Linked DNA regions of Homo sapiens: region 2 is linked to region 1. Evidence: promoter capture Hi-C in 16 types of primary human blood cells and fetal thymus (Javierre and others, 2016). All regions are on one chromosome and are shown on one strand. The core of a region is centred on a gene start or on the middle of the fragment in contact, and the rest is flanking DNA. Distances in the headings are between cores, read along the strand shown.

Region 1 (4,637 bases), core at 1,207-3,706:
CAGATCTAACAGAACTCATACAGGTACGTACAGGAACTCACATATTTTATGGTGAATTTCTATCTTATTCAGCCTGCTATTGCAGAAAAGACCACAGGCAGACCTACAGTAAAGAGTCCATTGGGCGGATATATGCCATTCTTCCCATTTCTCATAAGTCAAAAGTGTAGTGGTGCTGGCAAAACAGGGCCCAACAAGGGGGCAGAATGGGGTCCAATAGGGGATAACTGGAGATAACATCTGAGAAACATGGCCAAGATTTAGAGCCCTGGAACTCTTCATTTAATTGTTAAATATCTGCTCTGCATAACTGCCTAGATTGGCTCTGTTCTCAGGTCCTTTGGCCTGAGGTTGTGGGGCAGCAGAATGAGCCAGAGAGCCCAGATGAGCTGAGCAGCACCTGAGGTTGGTAAGAGGTGACCAGCCCTGTGGAGGTGGAGATGGTGGTTATCTGTGAGTGTGACATCCAGGCTGTCTCTACCCCCAGATAAACAAGGGTGACACGTGTGCAGCAGGTGGGCCTACACGGAGGGGCCTCCTGGCCTGTGAGCATCAGAGACCTGGGAATGCCAGGAGGCCAGGCTATTCTGGACCTGAATCCTTTTCATTGACTAGCTCCCCCAGAAAACACATCAAATATTGTCAGGGAACAGATACATAGCATTTCAGCATCTTCAAGGGATTGAAGACGTGTGTTGCTGTTCTGGCCCATCCTTCCACTTTCTAGAAGTGTTGAAGATGGGCCTCTCTGAGCTTTGCCCACCTCATCCAAAGAACAGAGATGGCCCATCTGTCTTTCCTGTATCACAGGGCTACAGTGAGGCTGAAGTAAGTTAATGTGTGGGAATGCTTTATAAAGTACCATGCAACGTGCCCTGGTTCGTAAAACTCATTTATTCAACAAAGCAGTACAAGCCTCCCCTTCAATCAGGACCTGCCTGCAGGGGTGGGCTACTTCAGTGTCTTCAGCCAATGGGAGCTAGAGGGTTTAATACTTTAGTCCACTTCCCTTCATCTCTGGCCCCATCGACAACATGGGGAAGGGGAGTGAGGGCCTGGTAGAAGGGTACTAAGGCCCCTTATTTCGTTCGCTGGTAGAACTGGAAGACTGCTTTCTCCTGCTCATAGGTCTCGATGGAGCCGGGTCGTAGTCGTCGGATTTCAGCAATGGCATCTCCTGCAGCCAAGCCCCGCTCCTTCACCAGGTAACAGGCCAGCATGGTGCCAGTGCGGCCAAAGCCCAGAGCACAGTGCACTCCCACAGCCTACGAAGAGGGGGCTCGATGGGTGCCACTCAACTCCCCCACCCACAACTGTTTCCTGCCCCTCACTTGGTTCTCCCCACAGCTCCTTCTTCTGTGCCAGGTCCAGGGCTCTGCAGCAAAGTCAGGGAGGGCTGTCCCTGCACTAGGTGGCTAGGAGGCCTCTGCACTGGCTGGTTCAAGAGCTGTCCACCTCTACACAGCCCTCCACCTGTGGTGTTCAATACAGAAGACAGTAGCCACGGCTACTGTGGCTACTGTACTCGAAATGTGGCTAGTCCAAACTGAGATGTAGTGTGAAAAACGCAACAGGGTATGAAGAGGTAGTAGAAAAAAGAATGAAAATATCTCATTAAGATCACCAAAGTTAATTTTATCTGCTTCCCTGCTTTTTAAGAATGCCGTTGCTAGAAAAATTAACATTACATGGAGCCACTTAGGTTCCATTATATTTGGACAGCTTTACTCTAGAAAATGGTAAACAGCCTCCACCTGACTTCAACCCCCACCTCTCCCAGGTGTCTGTCCACACCCTTCTCCTTCACAACTCACAGTATTAGCTGGTTTTCACTGCCTCTCCTCAAGCCCAGTTCGCACTGCTTCGCCCTCTCTTTAGTTCCTTCCGTTTAGCGCTTCCCTCCCCCGCACTGGCTTCCCAGTCTCCCGGCCCTACTGTCTGCCTCCCCGAGCCCAGTTAAGTTATCCCAGGCCCGGTCTCCCCAGCTCCGCCCGTGTCCCCCGCTGACCTTCCAGGCCCCTCCCTCCCTGCGCTGACCCCGCCCGCTGACCTCTCCCCGTGCGTTGGCCTCGTCCACGATCTGCACGAAGCGGTCGATCTGGTCGGGGGCCGGCGGGCAGAAGTCGGGGATGCGCAGGCGGTGCAGGGTGAGGCCGGGGCAGCTGTCGCTGTGAGGGGGCCCGCGCTCCGTCAGGGACACCAGGTGCCGCACGCCCAGGTCCAACAGGAACTGGTAGTGGGCGGGGAGCCGCGGCAGCGCCAGTCCCGCCAGCCGGCCCGGAAGCACCCAGGAGAAGTTGGGGGGCTGCACGCCCATCGCTGGGAAAGGGCACAGGACAGCGGGTCATGGGGGCCGAGGCTGGCCAGCCCCGCTCCGCCCACGCGTCCCCTCGCCCGCTCCGAGCCAAGTAACTCACCACCTACCTGGCCTCGGCGCCTCCCGGGCCACGTGGTCTGCAGGGCGCCGCCCTCGGGTCGCTCTGCCCAGCCGCGGGGATTGGCCCAGAACCTGGGGCGGGGCTGGAACGCGGAACCCAGTCTCTGAGCGACCGAGGGAAGCGCCGCGATCCCGCCCCGTCCGAGCAGATCACGCGGTGATTGGCTGGATCATCATAATGGGCGGGGGGTTACTTCCACGGGGTTCAACCCACTCAGCTAAGAAGGAAGACCTGGAGCGAGTTAGGAATTGTTTGCTGCGGATGGAACAACCCGGGGTCGGGCTCTGCTGCACCCTGGCGGCATGTTGCAGTCATTGCGTCACTGGCGCCTGCCCCTGCCTCCTCGCGGGCCGGCCTAGTTCTACCTCCTTCACGCTGGATGCCCTGGGGTTTAAGAGATGACAAATCGGCTTTCTCCCAGGACGAGGAGTCTCCTCTCTAATGATTGACTGGTCGTTATCAGCGACTTTTTGAACTGTTCCAGTAAGAGGGAATTACTGCTGCAAGGAGGCTATTCTCATTTTTTCATTGCTGGAACTATTAAAAACTTACCCAGGGTAATAATTATAGTAATAATAATAACCAGCACCAACTTCTCCTGTCAATCCAGTTGCTCCTCAGGACTTATTGAGCATTTATTATGTGCTAGATAGTCTTCTAAGCACTTAGCACATACTGACTCATTTAATTGCCACAGTAATCTTATAAGATAGGTGATCTAGTGAATCCCATTTTATGGATGAAAAAACAGAGGCACTGGAGAGGTTAATAAACTTGACCAAAGGATGATGACTAATGCCTCCAAAATCTTTAATAATATCGCCATTTCCTAAAGTTAAATGGAACATTGTTTTCTCTTCACATAACCCCCTCATGTCCCCAAATATTATCTGGGTTAAACGCTTGTGGGTTTTCTTAATTTTTATTAGTATTTCATATTTCTTCATTTTTCAAGGTTTCCTAGTTCTCTGGGTCACTGTCCCCTGGGCAGGCTAGAGTTGATTAGTGTTGTTCTTACTAGGTGGGGGCCCCTAGATCTGAACACCGTTTCCACTGTCATCTGACCAGTCCATATCCTCATTTGAATAATGTGCTTCTAGCGATGCAGACTAACTGTAATTATGAAAATAGTTAACCCTTATTGAATTTGTTTATGTACCAGGCCCTGTGCCAAGCGCTTTCTGGAAGAACCACATGTGAAAGGTATTTTTGTATCTTTTTTTGTACATGAATCATTGGAAGCTTAAAGAAGTTGGTTAACTTGGCCAAGGACACAGTGATCCAAGCCCAGGGCACTTGGCCATGAGGATGTATTATATTTCCTTCCCTTTGCACCCACCTATGACACACGTCTGACCATTTAAGCCTTTGGCTTCAGCAAGATGGAAAGCAATTTGTCTTCTCCTAAAGATCAAAGCCTGCTCTGACCCTGTGGGAAATACACTTACCATTTACCCAGACAATTACTTTCCCCAGGTTCCAGGAGGTGCCAAATCTCCCCTTTTTCTCCTTCCAGACAATCACAGCCCTCATTAAGCCCTTCCTGTTTGCACTCTCATTTCCTACATAAATTCCTATCAAGGTTACCAGCCCTCCCCAGTTTATTCCTTTCTCTCTTTCCCAGCCATGGCCTCTCAGCCACCAGTCACCTCTTCCCCCAACCCCCTGACCTCCCACTTCTCTTCTCAATTCAACTGCTCTTCAGGATTTCTGGTTGCACTACCTCTGGAGACAAGACTCTAGCATTTGTTCTTGTAAGTTAATCTTTTCTTAGTCCCTTTGCCTTGTTCTCCTTTCTTTGCTTCCCCTACTCACCAGGGAAGTTTCCACTTCACTCCCTACCCTCCTATGTGCTCCTTCTTTGCCTCCTTGATATCCAGCTCGAAGCCCATATTCTCCAGAAAGAGAAAATTTTTTTGGGAGACCGAGATCTTCCTCTTCCCTGAGTCCCCTACCAATGATTCTCTCCCTCTTGTGGGTTTCTGCAGGGCTAGCAGTGCATCCATCAAACCATTAGGGCCTCCATGTGGAGAGGCCAGTTGGCTCCCTTTTTAGGAAGCTCTGCCCTTCCCTTCCAGCAGACCCAGAGTGGAAAGGGCCCAGGGTCCCTGCCTTAAGCTTTGTCAAGGGTGCCATATGTCAAGGGTGCCATATGATGTTTTGTCTTGGGCCCAAGGGGCCTCAAACTGTAAGGAAAAA
Region 2 (4,637 bases), core at 614-3,113, 640 kb after region 1:
ACTGTTTTTTCTTCACTCCCATGCTTAATTCTAGTGAAGATGCTGAAGGAACATCACATCAGACTCCCTGTACCTCTTGCCTGGGCTTGACAGATACAGTTCTTATTGCTGAGAACCAGACCAGTCTCTTAGAACTCAGCTGCCATTCTCTGCTGCCGTTGTTCACAGTGTTCCTTTACGGAAGCAGCTCCTTTGTCTCTGGGATCGAGGGTTTTCCTGAATCCCCAAGCGTTGCCCAGCCCCTGTCTGAGAATAGCTGGACTGGGATGAAACCACAGTGAGGGAGTGGGGGTGGAGGTAGAGATGGCTTCTGCGTTTTCTGCAGGGTTGGGTGCACTCTGCTTAATTAGCATGAGAATCGAGAGATTTTCGTATCATCCCTAAGGGATGGAGAGGAAAGGAGAGCAAAGGCTCTAGTTCTGTCCTGTTCCATCAGGGATTCTGAGTCTGGGAAATTGACTGCTGTCACATTCCCCCAATCCTCTGGGGACCATCGGACCCAGAGTATTGAGAAAAGCTTTGATGAAGCCGGCTGGTGGATCTCCACTCCAGATTTTCCAGCTGTCCCTGTCCCCCCCCACCGCTCAGAGAGCAGGATGCTGAGATGGCTCGGTGATGCAGAAGGTATGTGCTTTTTCAGTTCTGGTGCTGATGCTGTGTGTGTGGTGAGGTCTCTGTGGCGCAATGGACGAGCGCGCTGGACTTCTAATCCAGAGGTTCCGGGTTCGAGTCCCGGCAGAGATGGTCACCTGGCAGGTGCCTCTTTTATTTTGACTACTGTCATGCTAGGTTGATAATTATATTTACTCCTCCCTGGAGGCTATAGGGGAGAGAAAGGAAACCCTTTTCCTTGAGAATCCTGGACCTTCTCTCTTTTTGTGTCCCCTCCCTCTTCATTCTTTCTGTATTCCTCTCTTACAGATTTTCATTGTCTAGTAGAGGCTCAGATGTCTGCTGCTTCTCTCTGTTCAGCCCGACTGACATAGCATTTGAATCCTTTACTTCACAGTTAGATAATTGGCACATAGTGACCAAGACGGAAAGTCACAGGTTTTGGAACCACTCTGATTCCCTCCTTTGACCTCTGAGACCACAAAAAGGCAGATTGTCCCATATGCCAATGAGAAAATGTCCAACTGTCCTCTGAGGTAACACCTTCCTTGACCAGGGTTATCATTTGGTGGATGTCAGGATGTCTCTGCCTGACACGGTCATGCAGAGGGTAGTTTCTTGCACTGTCTGTCAGCTACACTTTTTCATTCCTGAGGCTTTTTGCGCTCAAGCTCATCACTCACTTTCTGATCTGTCAGGTGAAATGTAATCATTGCTCTTTGTCTCAGTGGAATAAACCACAGAGCAACACACTAATTACCAGCAGCAAGCTGGATGAGCTTGTCCCCAGAAACTCGAAGGTTTTATACTTAAATGCTATTTACTGTGAAAAGTTTGTACCCCTTTCTGTTTGTAGGACAGACTTCAAGTGTTGTATCTGAATGTTATTTCCATAATTCCTGATTTTCAAAAAGCCATGTTCTCACCACCTCTCTCCTCCCGCGTTCATTTTTGCTGTCTCCTTGTCTTGTCTAATGGGCCACATTTAGCCAGATTGGGAGCTTGGTCAGATTGTGTGATGTAGCTTGGATTTCTATTTTGGGCTGGTCTGGCTCTCTCCCTTGCATATTGCTACCTCTAGCTTATTAGCTAGAGGGAGCTGCCCCTGCCAGGAACCGACCTCCACCTCAGGTGAACCCAGGAAACCTGAGAAGATACGTGTCCCAGGACTGCTGGGGAGACTCAGCATCTCTCCCATGCGGGACTCTGGACGGGCGACCAGAGGACACAGCTGTGCACTTGCACTCTAAGGAAGCTGAGGTGGGGGAGGCGGGAAAGTCCACAGAGGAGTTTAAAGCAGCCATGCCAAAAGGTAAGGGGAATTGACAGTGTAGATAGGAGGACCCTGGAGGGAGATTGATGTTTGCTGCTTCCATGTGTGCATGTTTATAGCAAATGGAAACTTTTGAAATTCTCTTGAAGTAGTATGGTACTTTAAAGACTTAAAATTCTTCTAGTAAGAGCTAACATAGCTTTACATTTCTGGGTTACCTTGGTGGAAGGCCAATTCAGATGTTATCTCTCTCCCACTGGTCCCATAGATATGCCCTTTGGAGGACATGGTGTGGACCAGAAGTTCCTGGGCATTCTTTCCTGGAGCCTTTTGTTTATTGTTAACTCAGCCTATCCTAGATATTTTTGCTTTAAGCCCTCGCCTGAAAGGAAACATTAGTGTGTGGTAGTGGTGGGGGAAGGGGAAGGGGAAGGGAGTTCAGGAAAGGGGTATGTCACATTTTTCCACCATAGTCTAGAATACTGCATACATCTTCCTGATTCTCCCTCCATCATAGCATGGTAATGGAGGTGCTTAACCATGAGAATTCCGAGAAGGTAAGGATATTATTTCTATATCACTGTTAAAATTCGGGGCAAGGGCCCACTCGATGGTTTGCTCATTTCTAGAGTCTTTCTGGAAATAATGATCAGACTTCATGGAATTGTGAGGGCTGGGGATGAGGTGGAAACAGGGCGGGTATGTGTGCCCAAATAGACAGTGTGTTGGGATTTGTTTAAATGTTTGATCAGAATTTGATAGAGCCAGCTCTTTATGTGAAGCTCTATACCTGTGAGAATTAAAATCCACAGATAATTCCCCAAGCCTGATTTTGTCTTGTCATTTCTATTCCCTATCTTGGAATCAGAAGACCTCGGTATAAGAAGCAGCTTTGCCAAGTTGCCGAACATCTGCACTTTAATTTGCTTATGTATTAAAAAAAAGAGTATATTGTCTTTCCTACAAGTGTAAAAAATGGATGAAAAGTTTGTTGTACAGCACTGTGCAAATATAGAGGCTATGTTAGTTTTCAAGTTGCTTTTGTCTTTCTCCTAAGCATACGGGGAGGGTACCTGGACACAAAATAGGGAAAGGAAAGGGTCTGAATGCTCAGCCCCTGCCTGGAACATCCAGGGTGGCTGTGTGTCATCAGCAGGGGCAGATGCCACCCTGTGCTACCCTAAGAGGTCTGATTGGAGTTTTCTAGCTGGCAGGATCCTTCAGAGAGCATGTGGTCCCTCTGTGCCTTAGATAGGAGACTTTATCTCAGCCAAGTAGGTAGAGGGTCCTCCTGGCTACCCCACTCAAGGGAACTAGAAGCTTCTGCTTATTTAACTATTGCCTAGCCTTCAACTCTCTTCATCCTGAGGGGTGGTGTTTTGGAGACTTGAAGGATATCACCAGGACTGGGGAAAAGATTTTCCACATGAGTAAAAATTCTTCTGTGTGTGATAACAATTTTCTTCTGAATACATAAGGGATATCTCCTAATTTATGAATATCATAATTACTGTATTTTAAAGATACTCAGAATGTAAAATAGAAATGGGTGTGTTTTTTATGAAGTCACTTCACTGTAGGACTCAAATACTTCAGAGATGCTGGAGCTGATCATTAATTGAAAAGTATGCGGGCAGGATATGTGTTATTTATTATTGTATTCTCAGTGCCTGAAATATGGTAGGCATTTGATGGATATATTTGAAAGAATTAATGCTGACTTCAATTGACTATAAATTATATAGATAGGAAAGAGAAAGAGATTACTCCTAGCTTCCAGGGAGCAGGAGCACAGACAGTATCTTCAGGCATTAATTCACTTATTTAACAAATATTCATCAAGCACCCACTTCATGCCACTTCCCATTATTCCAGGCACCAAAATAGTAGATTCCACCTTCTTCATGGAATACATATTCCCATGATGAAGACAAATGACAGACAGGTAAATAAATATTATAATAGCTAATAGCATTTTAGGTAGTGATATGTACTATGGAGGAATTTAAAGGATGCTTGGGGATGGAGAGTGATGTGATGAATGATGGTTGTGGAAGACCTCTCAGAGGAGGTGGCTTTTGAGTGAAGACCTGAGTGAAGTGAGGGCAATGAGATTTAGGGGATGGGCATTTCAAACAGAGAAACAGCAAGAGCAGAGACTCTGATGTGGGCACCAGCCTGATTGGAAAGCTGACAGGTCAGTGTGGTGGAGTGGGAGGGAGTGATGGGAAGAGTTGGGATTAGAGTTTGATACAGGGCACACCATCTAGGACAATGTTCTCAACCCTATGACATCCAACTCTGCCTTGTTAGGTCCATTATTTCTTCAATTCTTCTCTACTAACCTGCAATGAAATTCATAGATAACATAACTTTCCCATGCCCATAATGAAAACTAATCAATATAATACCCTAATTGTAATGTAAGAGAGGAATAAAAAGAAATAAACTTATAATAAATAGTATACATTTTAGTACATAAATGCCATACCAGCACCCTTGCACCTATATGAAGACCCACCCTGAACGCAACAGCTACATATGCAGACCAGTGCAGGCATGCTGCACTGCTGACTTAAATCTCATGAGGGATGTCGTTCACCAGCAGCGTCCTGGTTTTCCAGACTGGTGAACACTTTTGGATACATTTTTGATCAAAGCAAAGTAAGTCTTCTTGCAAAATGCGCAGTACTTTGCATTCCTGGAAAATTTAGGAAGTTTTAAATCATGCAGAAAACTCTCTAACATATAA

Evidence for each region. The method cuts DNA at HindIII sites, captures the fragments that hold promoters and counts their contacts. A CHiCAGO score of 5 or more calls a contact.
Region 2: a fragment that was not itself captured here is called in contact with the fragment with the promoter of DUSP23 in region 1 in 7 of 17 cell types (endothelial precursors, M2 macrophages, M0 macrophages and 4 more); the score reaches 23.4 in endothelial precursors.

The regions. Positions count from the first base shown.
Region 1 is chr1:159,778,781-159,783,417 of GRCh38, reverse strand. DUSP23 (dual specificity phosphatase 23) reads right to left here and starts at 2,456. Exons shown (of 2, transcript NM_001319658.2): 1 at 2,051-2,456; 2 at 875-1,265. The coding sequence starts at 2,317. The coding sequence ends at 1,080. LOC101928264 (a long non-coding RNA gene) reads left to right here and starts at 4,037. Exons shown (of 3, transcript XR_922193.3): 1 at 4,037-4,192. RefSeq lists an enhancer at 1,564-2,140 and a silencer at 2,132-2,521. The HindIII fragment of the contact is 4,062 bases long and covers 1-3,682 here.
Region 2 is chr1:159,137,718-159,142,354 of GRCh38, reverse strand. It overlaps TRR-TCT4-1 (tRNA-Arg (anticodon TCT) 4-1), which reads left to right and starts at 671; the gene lies at 671-744. It also overlaps a transcript of AIM2 not described here. The HindIII fragment of the contact is 2,688 bases long and covers 520-3,207 here.